4 separate regions of the Homo sapiens genome follow, and all the other regions are linked to region 1. The links are contacts of gene promoters, found by promoter capture Hi-C in blood cells and fetal thymus (Javierre and others, 2016). All regions are on one chromosome and are shown on one strand. Each heading gives the region's core, a stretch centred on a gene start or on the middle of the fragment in contact. The rest is flanking DNA. Distances are from core to core; before and after follow the strand shown. Region 1 holds the start of ERC1 (ELKS/RAB6-interacting/CAST family member 1). Region 2 overlaps B4GALNT3 (beta-1,4-N-acetyl-galactosaminyltransferase 3). Region 3 overlaps NINJ2 (ninjurin 2). Region 4 holds the start of NINJ2-AS1 (NINJ2 antisense RNA 1).

Evidence for each region. Contacts are between HindIII fragments. The CHiCAGO score rates a contact against its expected background, and 5 or more counts as called.
Region 2: a contact is called between a fragment that was not itself captured here and the fragment with the promoter of ERC1 in region 1, in 1 of 17 cell types (neutrophils). The highest score is 5.5, in neutrophils.
Region 3: a contact is called between a fragment that was not itself captured here and the fragment with the promoter of ERC1 in region 1, in 10 of 17 cell types (total CD4 T cells, activated CD4 T cells, naive CD4 T cells and 7 more). The highest score is 8.1, in total CD4 T cells.
Region 4: a contact is called between the fragment with the promoter of NINJ2-AS1 here and the fragment with the promoter of ERC1 in region 1, in 1 of 17 cell types (naive CD4 T cells). The highest score is 6.0, in naive CD4 T cells.

The regions. Positions count from the first base shown.
Region 1 is chr12:989,964-992,489 of GRCh38, reverse strand. ERC1 (ELKS/RAB6-interacting/CAST family member 1) reads right to left here and starts at 1,267. Exons shown (of 19, transcript NM_178040.4): 1 at 1,168-1,267. It also overlaps a transcript of RAD52 not described here. RefSeq lists silencers at 453-747, 953-1,462, 1,483-1,592, 2,003-2,052 and enhancers at 751-1,312, 1,874-2,436. The HindIII fragment of the contact is 9,168 bases long and covers 1-2,526 here.
Region 2 is chr12:533,726-536,251 of GRCh38, reverse strand. B4GALNT3 (beta-1,4-N-acetyl-galactosaminyltransferase 3) reads right to left here. Exons shown (of 20, transcript NM_173593.4): 2 at 983-1,086; 3 at 1-34. Among named protein-coding and RNA genes, the nearest start is that of B4GALNT3, 75 kb to the right of the region's middle. RefSeq lists an enhancer at 1,318-1,817. The HindIII fragment of the contact is 3,965 bases long and covers 1-2,526 here.
Region 3 is chr12:565,903-568,428 of GRCh38, reverse strand. It overlaps NINJ2 (ninjurin 2), which reads left to right. Exons shown (of 4, transcript NM_016533.6): 2 at 2,251-2,479. Among named protein-coding and RNA genes, the nearest start is that of NINJ2-AS1, 64 kb to the left of the region's middle. RefSeq lists enhancers at 2,013-2,512, 2,513-2,526. The HindIII fragment of the contact is 601 bases long and covers 961-1,561 here.
Region 4 is chr12:629,631-632,156 of GRCh38, reverse strand. It overlaps NINJ2-AS1 (NINJ2 antisense RNA 1), which reads right to left and starts at 1,266. Exons shown (of 5, transcript NR_122124.1): 1 at 1,172-1,266. The region is part of intron 1 of NINJ2 (ninjurin 2); the gene reads left to right. RefSeq lists silencers at 1,241-1,340, 1,401-1,480. The HindIII fragment of the contact is 3,290 bases long and covers 1-2,526 here.

The DNA.
Region 1 (2,526 bases), core at 18-2,517:
ACTGCAAATGAGAAATAAAATTTCAACAATTTAGCACTGAACACAAAATGTCTAAAAGTCAAGGTGTACTGAGCAAGCAACACGCTATAAAAGACGGTTGTACTTTAAAACATTTAAGCATTTTTCATATAATTAGCTCCAACAGAACTATTCCAATTGTTCACTTTATCCACCCAAAGCAGTCAACCACAACCACCTGCAACTATTATTCAGCAATGTGCCTTCCAAAGCAACCACCTGAGTTTGGGGCCTTCTCTCAAGGGGCCAGGATAAAGCCTGTAAAAGGGTGGTATAAAGAGATCTTTTAGGCATTGGGGGGAAAAAAAACTGGAAGACACCACCTTGAAGGAGCTAAGCGTAATGCGACCCAAATGGTGGCTGCCGGAACGAAGTTGTCTAAACCGAAGATCTCCCTCTTCTTCGGTGTAAAACTTTCAGATACATCCACGCTCACAATTTACCTGAGCCAAAGTAAGGGGATTCTCTTCCCTCTCCGACCCCCCACCCACCCCGCCAGAAGAAAAAGAATCGAACCCTAAAGTAGAAACGTGAGATCTAGTGCAATAAAATAGGTTCTGCAACTGCCTCAAAGGCAACATGCACAGCTCATCGTCCTTTTGAAATACACTTCATCTTTTATCTCACCATTTCATCGAAAAGAAAAGAATCATCTTCAGCATTTTACATCACTCACCTAACCCAAAGATCCACCCTGACCGCACCCCAACCTCATGGCTCCCCAATTTCTCCGTCTCCCCACTACCTCGTCCGCGGCTTCACTAGTCCTAAGCCTCCCCCCCTCCGCTCCCCAAGTGCCCAGAGCCCCAGTCCCCACTCCCCCACCTCCCGCCCCAGGATCCCCACATCTACCGCCTCGGCTCCCGCCCGATCCCGGAGCCCGGCTGGGTGGAGCCCGCGGGTGGGCGCCGGTGGTCTGGGTGGGGCCCGCCCCTCCCCACCCCCCGGGCTGCCGAGGAGGGGGAGGGGGTCGCGAAGCCTCACCTACAGCTCCGCCCCTCCCCGGGGGCGCGTTGCCCTGCCCAGCCCAGCCCGGGCCGTGAGCAAGAAGCTGGGTAGGAAAGGCGAAAGCCTCAGCACTAGCGACAGGGGGGAAGCTCTGGGTCCCGCGCGACTTCCGCGCTGTCGCCGCCGCCGCGGCCGTCTCACCGTCCTCAGGGCTGCCGCTACTGCTGCTGCTGCCGCCCAGGCACCGCCGCCGCCGCCACTACCGCCGCCGCCGCCGCCACAGCACGGCCCAGGCGCCCGCGACGTCACCGCGCCCCGCCCCCTGCGCGAGACACCTAGCCCCGCCCCCAGCCCCGCCGCGGGGCGCAGCGCGCCTCCCCGGGCTCCCGGCTCGGCTGCCTCCCTTTCCCTCAGCCTCCCGGGAGCGTGACGCGGCGGCCCGGGGGCCTCCGGGCGCCTTCCGGGGCACGCGGGTGAGGAACTGGGAAGCGGGGGAAATCGGCGCCACGGCGGTCGATTAGCACCGAAACAGAGTGATGGGCGCGGAGCGTCCCTGCACACACACACACACTCACACACACACACACACGACCCCTGCGGCCACGGGAGGGGAGAGCCGGGGTCGGCTCCGCGAGCGCAGGGTGGCGCTTGTCTCCTCCTGCTTGCCGTAGGAAGTGGACGCTGGAAGCCCGAGGAGCCGCTTCGTGTCTTCCCAAACCTAAGCGGCGCCCCACCCCCTACTTCTCGTGGCCCGTTACGCCCGGGGCAGCCAAGCGCCGCGGGAGCAGCGCCGGGATCGACCCTGGCTGCTGGGGGGACGCTTTGTCCCAAGAAAGCTGGTTTTTTGCCCCTTAGCTTCGTGGAACGCGGCCGCGAAATTAGTGGTCTTCTGACCTGAGACTCGCGGGGCTGCGCACACGGGCATCGCCGAGGACCCCAGCAATGGACGTCGTGTCTGTGGTGATCCCGCCAGGACGCGGGGAGCGTGGGCGGAAATTAGTGTCCACGTTCCGACCCTGCGCTGTGCCAAACGCTGCTTCGGGAGCTGTTTATTTAGCCTCCGACAGCTAAGCGAATCGGCGGGCGGCTGGGGCCTGGTGCAACCCGATTTTCTCGTGCAGACTCGCAGCCGGCTTTGGTTTTGTTTTTTGTTTTTTGTTTTTTTTTTGGAGCCATGCAGAGGGTAGCTACAGCCATTAATTTAAGGATGTAGATAAGCTATCTCTAAACCAAGAAAGTAAGAATGGTGTGAATTATATTTATTCCCAGCCTTCCAGTGTTTATTAAAATAATTTTCGGTGTCCTTGAGAGGAGTTAAAAGCCATCATTTTACTCCTGCTTACCTCCGCCACCGTAATTAACCACTTTATACTGCCTCATAATCCCATTAACAAATTGCAGTCGCTCCTCAGCCTTCACATTCATTCACTCACCAGTTTCTACTGTTTCATCCTGCCCGGACTCTTAACTGTTCCCTCCCAGGATCGACATGCACTTGGATCATTGCAGTTTCTGGGCCTGCTGTCATCTCCCCCTTCAGTACTTCCCACATATGACTAC
Region 2 (2,526 bases), core at 18-2,517, 460 kb after region 1:
TGTTACTGCTCACCCCTTGGTCAATGTCGTGGTCCTAGGGGAAGAATGAAGAACGAAGTTGGTAGGAATATTAGGATGAGAAGCTACGGGCAGGACAGGAGGCACAGTGCCTGCTCCCAGGAGGCGTCGGCTCGGAGCACGCTGCCGTCTGTCATTCACACCATGTCCTGGGAATACATCTCCATAGTTTCATCAGCGCCTGCTCCTCGGGTTCCTTCACTTTTCTGAATTTTCTGTCCTCCCCATATGGGAAAGCAGTTTACCCTCTTTAGGTCAGGACCTCTTGAGGGCAGGGACCTCGGCTCCCTCTTCCTCCTTATCCCCCAGCTGTATAGATTTGGGTTCCAACAAGTGGGAGCCCCTCAGGGACACCACCAAACCCTCCCTATTGTGCAGGTCCACAGGTTCAGTTTGGCTCTGGTCCAGCTCTGGAATCCATGTCTGTTCTAGGCTCAGCCTTGGGGCTCCTGAATGAATTAGACCCCAGTTTCTCTAATCTGCCTCCTTAGGGACCATTGGTTCAAGAAGCACTGCAGGCAAATGCTCCACCACAAGTCTGTACTCCCAGCTACGGGCAGGGAGGGGTGTCCATCCACCTCGTCACCTCTGATCTCAGCAGCAAGCACAGCACAGCCCAGCCCTCACCCTAGTGAGAGGCACCACATGCCACTGGTGATGGAGGTCGCAGGCCCGGAGTGGTTCCGGCACGGGCAAACTGAACTAGGGAACGAGGGCAGACACCAGAAAACCAGGCCCAGTGGCAGCCCCAGTAAAAGTTTCCTTTTACTGGCTTTGAGGAGGCTGGATGGACATCTCTAAGGCTCAGCTAGGAGGTCCTGAGGCCAGACTAGGACTCTGGGGGCTGTTTATCCTCTGCCTCTCCTCCCAGAGTAGCAGAGGTTACCCTTAAGGCAACTGGGCAGAGCACCTGCGGACCTTTGTTAAGGCATCAGCAGGGACAATGGACTGGCTGGTCACCTACCTCGAGGCTCAGCCTCTGGGGATGGTAGAACTGGAGGTGTGGATCCACAGCTGGAATGTTCCTGCTGGCCAGAGCCTTGGCCAGTTCTCTCCAGCTGCCGTACCCTGTGGAAGGGGAAGAGAGGAGCCCTCAGGTCAGCGTAACCTGGAAACCTCATACACCTAAAAGATTTGGGAGGTTAATGGAGGGAACCGTCTTCCCTTCTCACCTCTCTTCAGAGGGTGGGTGGGAAGAGGGCTGGGCTGGGGGCAGGAGATAGCTGCAGACTGGCCAAGGCCCACAGGGCAGAGAGAGGAGATGAGCTTACATCCCATCAGCAGTCACCGCCTTCCAGAAACCAGAGAAGGAGCCAGTCCAGGTGAGCCTGGACCACGGGCCTCCCACTACCAGCTCGTTCTCCCCCGGCTGCCTCTGGAGGCCAATTTATCCCGAGAGCTGCCGTGGAGAGATGGTCGTGACAGGCGGTACACTCTTCCCTTCCTGCTCAGTTTCTGTGCCCTGAGCCCGGGGAACAGCAGAGGCTTACTAATGGGTGGGGACCCCCTACCACTGATCACTGGGTTGCTGGATAGAGCCGGAGCTGAGAGAGGCAGGAAAGAGTGGGCCTGGGATGTGATGTCTGTCAAACAAAGGTATAAACCACTGGAGATACAAGATCAGAGGCCCTGCTATTACTGGAGTCACCGGGAGGCTGCGTGTGGCTGACGCTGTCTGTACCCTGAAGGCTCTGGACCAGGTTGGCTTACACGCACCTGGGAAGGCAAAAAGCCAAACCATGGCGAGAGGGAGGGAGGGAACAGGAAACTGGGGGGTGCACGCGCATTCACAAGTCAGGAGGCAAGGGGCTGCACCAGGGTGAGGGCCGGGGAGAATCAGTCCGGCGGCCGGCCACTGCTGACACTCCCGAGGGCTGGGACTCCCATCTCAGAGGAGATTGCTGGGCTTTGGATAAGTGGAACCAAACCACTGTTAGTCACAAACCAGAACCGTAGACCACTGGAAGCGAAAGAGGCTTTTGAGATCACCTCATCCTCCCTTCAAGTGAGGAAAATGGGACCCACACTGGTCAAATGGCTGATCAAGGCTCACTTAGCAAGTAGTGGCAAGGCTAAGACTAGGACCCCAGTGTGCCACGGATTTCCACTGAGCTCCCCTTTCCCTCAACAGCTTCACCACGATGTCCCCAGGATGCTGCGCTGGGCACTGCTTAGACGGAATTAGCCTGACAGTCCCCGACCCCTGGGAGCCAAGAGTCGACAGTAGGCAGAAGTGTCACAGAGGAACCCCTACGTGAGCACCAGCAGAGACACAGACAGCCACGCAGACACAGAACACAGAGCACCACCCACGAATATGGGCTTCACCGAAGGTGGCCACCCACGCTATGCACGAGTGTTTCTGTAACAGGCCTGGGGAGGGGTGGGATCAGGGGCTGCACGCTGAAATGCAGGTGTGGGGTGAGAGTGCTTTTCTTACATGATTATGCTTTGTGTGGGCCCTTTCGGCTTACTGAGTGTCCCACAGGCGTGATTTCATCTGAACCT
Region 3 (2,526 bases), core at 12-2,511, 420 kb after region 1:
TTGGAAAGGAAGTGAGAAGAGCAGGGTGGAGACGTGGGGCTGAGTTTTGAAGGCAAACGTTAGGAGAAGGACTGGGGAAGAGAGGCTCCCTTCTGTTGGCCTAGGAGAGGATTGGTCCAATCTGTAGCCAGGCATGTGGATTAGAGCTGGATCTCCAAAGACGAGTGCCCAAGACCATATTTTAGGATAAGAAAATTAAACTTCTATTTATATTGAATTTTATGTAATCCTTTCAAATGTTTCTACTTTTGCATATTTTACTATATATATAATTAGTCCAATAAAAATATGTATAGTTGATAATGGAAGAATGTACATATATTGAGGATGCATGGCCAAAACAGTTTTTAATGCTGAGATTACACTATCAAGAAAGTCTGGAGACTACTGCATTTCAGAGTTTTGTTTTTGTTTTTGTTTTGAGACAAGAGTCTTACTCTGCCACCCAGGCTAGAGTGCAATGGTGCGATCTCTGCTCACTGCAACCTCTGCCTCCTGGTTCAAGTGATTCTCCTGCCTCAGCCTCCTGAGTAGCTGGGATTACAGGCGTGTGACACCATACCCAGCTGATTTTTTTGTATTTTTAGTAGAGACGGGATTTTGCCATGTTGGCCAGGCTAGTCTCAAACTCCTGACCTCAAATGATCCCCCTGCCTTGGCCTCTCAAAGTGCTGGAGTTACGGGCATGAGCCACTGCACCCAGCCTCATTTCGGGGTATCCTAAGGGCTCATAGAATCCAAAGGTTCTGATAGATAGGTAAATCAGTTAGCCTATGTGTAAATCAACTGTCCTCTGTGTAAATCCCTGAGGTACAGAGAAGTGAAGTGACTTGCTGGGGCTGCACGAAGTACAAGGAACATTCCAGACCCTCTGAGACCTGCCTATCCAATCATCCACGCATCCATCCATCCACCCACCAATCTCTCCATCCATCCATCCATCCCTTCATCCATGAAGCTTTATTTTATACTTCAAAACAAAATCAAATGTAAATTATGCTTCAATAAATCCTAGCCAAAAAAATTAAAAACAAATTACGAGTGTTTAACTGGTATGCATCACTGTGCATATATAGGCACGCATCCATCTATCCATCCATCTGTCCCCACGCAGCAGGTATCTGTCCTGTCGTGGTGATCTGCTGGGTCATCTTCCCTACCTCCAGGCCATAGCATCCTTCAATCCATCCGTCTCTCCCCACTCTGCAGGTATCTGTCCTGTCATGGTGATCTGCTGGGTCATCTTCCCTACCTCCAGGCCGTAGCATCCTTCAGAGTCCTCCATTCCTTCCTGTCTCACCTTGCTCCACTTCAGTTCCTTTTCACCCTGATCCTAAATCAATACTATAACTTTTAAATGACTCTCCCTGCTTCTAGCCCTTCCTGGCCCAGTCTGTTCCAAGCACCACTGCTAAATCAATCTTCCAAGTACTCTTGAGTGACTGCAGATTGCCCTTGGTCATGGCGCCCAGTCTGAAATTCTTGGCCCAACCCAGAGGCCCACAGCATATGCCCTGTATTGTGATTCTGTCTTTTGGAGTTAGTGGCTTCTGGAGAAGCTTTAGTAAATTATGCTTCAATAAATCCTAGCCAAAAGTAATAATTAAAATGATGTGAGTGTTTAACTAGTATGCATTACTGTGTGTATACACTCATGCATGCATGCATGTGTATGCTGAGAGCCTGTGTCTGACAGCGTGTGTGCCTGAGCAGGGCGGCAGCTCCAGTGCTCCTGAGGGTTGGAAATCCAGCCGATGATCAGCTGCTGAGCTGTGCACCCTGCCTTGGGGGCCACAGCATTATGCGAGAGGAGGTGCCTTTCTCTATTTCACCCAAGCCTCCAAGCTCTTTTTATTGTCTTCTCAGGTGCTTTCCTCTCAGAGGAAAAGAACACAGCCCAAAGCTGAGGCCTGGCCCAGGTAAAATAGTGAATAGGGTGAGGAAGGTGCATTTTACCAGCAGCAGAGAACCCTCCCGGCTTTCTCCAGCCAGATGTGTGAAGGTGTGAGGGAAGGGGTGACTCTCCAGGAAGTATCAACTGCAACAGAATGTCATTTCAGAGTGCAGAGGTCCTTATGGGTTTTCTCGTCCAACCCTTCATTTTATCAGGCCATGAAACTAAGGGTGTCATTTGCCCTGAGCTTCCCATCTGGATTGGAAAGAGCTTTAAAACCTCTCTCCTCTCTCCCACCTCTCAACTGCTTCCCTTCCAGAGCTCCCCTTGGTAAGTCTGTGCTTTCTCCCCTACAGCCTGGAAGCTCCGACCCCAGGAGCCAGCCCATCAACCTGAACCATTACGCCACCAAGAAGAGCGTGGCGGAGAGCATGCTGGACGTGGCCCTGTTCATGTCCAACGCCATGCGGCTGAAGGCGGTGCTGGAGCAGGGACCATCCTCTCACTACTACACCACCCTGGTCACCCTCATCAGCCTCTCTCTGCTCCTGCAGGTGGTCATCGGTGTCCTGCTCGTGGTCATTGGTGAGGAGCCCAGCCTGCAGTCAGACCTTCTGCCTCGGCACCCGTGG
Region 4 (2,526 bases), core at 17-2,516, 360 kb after region 1:
GTTCAGACTTCATCCTCCCGGGTCCCCCATGTCCCTTCAACGTCTGATTAATTCTCCAGTCAACTCCCTGCTAATAGTCCACCCACAAATTGCTATTTCAGCTGACCTTCCCCAAAACTTGAGCATCCTTACCAAATACCTTGGGCTTCCTCATAACCTGGTTATCTTCTCATCTGCATGCCTTTCTGGAATAATTTTGAAGTATTAAAAAAAACTCCTCTAATTGTCAAGGGCATGCAGGAAGCTCAGCCCCTAAGGAGCATTGCAGAAATCTGGAGTTCTACTCTGTTTATACCTAAATCTAGCCTTCCAGGAGTTTCAGATAGTTTCCTGGAAACATTTTGTGCTTTGTGTTTTTCACCTTTCTCTCTTAATTGAATATGGGGTGAGGAGCAAGAAAGGGGATTGTGAATTACAATTACAAACAGTACACACATAACACAGGGACAATCTTTGCATTTCTCATTTCTGATCCCAGGGATCAGAGGTAGAGGCAGGCCAGGCGCGGTGGCTCACGCCTGTAATCCCAGCACTTTGGAGGCCGAGGCAGGCGGATCACGAGGTCAAGAGATAGAAACCATCCTGGCCAACATGGTGAAACCCCGTCTGTACTAAAAATATAAAAATTAGCTGGGCGTGGTGGCGCGCGCCTGTACTCCCAGCTACTCGGGAGGCTGAGGCAGCAGAATCGCTTGAGCCCGGGAGGCGGAGGTTGCATTGAGCAGAGATCACGCCACTGCACTCCCGCCTGGTGACAGAGGGAGACTCCGTCTCAAAATAAATAAATAAATAAATAAAAATTTAACAAAAAAAGGTAGAGGCAGCTCTCAGGTGAGTAAATTCGCAGATGCCCACGCATGTCTGGAACATACCCCAGGGGTCATTAGAGACTGCCCAGCAGAGGCGGGAGGATCTTCCGTTTGCTTTTCCTTCAGAACGTTTGTCCGGAGAGCATCCTGTTCTGTTATATGCATATCCACCTCCGTCTCCAAATTACTAGGTTGAGCACAGTGCTCAGTGCCTGGCATTGAGTTAGAAATAGAAAATGAGCTGGCGAGTCCCGGCCCGAGGCTGTGACAGGGGCCATTACTGAGCCCACTCCCCACCAACCTTTCTGCGGTTTAACTGACTCTCCTCCTTCCCCTCCAGATCCCAAGGGCTTGACTCCTACCTCCTCTAAGGCATTTTGAAAAGTTTGCAAATGCACCCTTGATCCTAGCACGTACTTAAGAAGCGGCTCCCCCCTAGAACGTCAGGCTTGAAGCTGACCCCTTCTTCCTCCTCCCGCGCCATTTGGGTCTGTGCGCAGGGCCGGAAGCCTGCTGGGGAGGGGCACGAGGCCGGGCTGGGGCCTCTCCGGAGGGAGCCCGCCGCCCCGCCCAGGGCGCACGCACCCAGCCTCTGAGGGAGGAAGCTGAATGGGGCCAGAGGCTGGCCCTCTTTGGGGATTTGCATTATACAGGCTGTATTTAGAAGCAGCGGCGGGGAGCGGTGGCTCACGCCTGTGATCCCAGCATTTTGGGGGGCCGAGGCGGGCAGATCACCTGAGGCCAGGAGTTCGAGACCAGCCTGTCAACATGGTGAAACTCCGTCTGTGCTAAAAATACAAAAAAAATTAGCCAGGCGTGGTGGCCGGAGCCTGCAGTCCCAGCTACTCGGGAGGCTGAGGCAGGAGAATCGCTTGAACCCGGGAGATGGAGCTTGCAGTGAGCCGAGATCACACCACTGCACTCCAGCCTGGGCAACTCAGCGAGACTCCGTCTCAAAAAACAAAACAAAACAAAACAAAACAAAAAACCAAGAAAAAGAGAATAAAAAAAAATAGAAGCAGCTTTCTTGCTGATAGAAAGCAATGACCCTCTCTGCTATAATTACAACTGAAGAGTCACTTTCTTTCAAAAACTCTATTTTCAGATGTTTACCACTTTCTTTAAAAAGGAAAAAAAATTTGCCTCAAAGGCAGGCAGTCCCCAGGGCATTTCTGGTCTCCTGGGGAAGGAACCTAAGAGCGGTTTGGTAAAATTCCATTTTGCTATCTTGGCGTTACCTAAGGGCAAGAACTGAGGTGGGGCTTTGGTGACAGCAGGGGCTGAAGAGTGCTCTTTTTCATCATCCAGGGTGTCCAATTGTTTTGTTTCCCTGGGCCACATTGGAAGAATTGTCTTGCCCCACACATAAAATACAGCAACACTAACAATGGCTGATACACTTTTAAAAAATCGCAAAGAAACTTCATATATATATATATATATATATATATTTTTTTTTTTTTTTTGAGTTTTGCTCTTGTCGCCGAGGCTGGAGTGCAACGGCACGATCTCGGCTCACCACAACCTCTGCCTCCCAGGTTCAAGTGATTCTCCTGCCTCAGTCTCCTGAGTAGCTGGGATTACAGGCATGCGCCACCAGGCCTGGTTAATTTTGCATTTTTAGTAGAGACGAGGTTTCTCCATGTTGGTCAGGCTGGTCTCAAACTCCTGACCTCAGGTGATCCACCTGCCTCGGCCTCCCAAAGTGCTGGGATTA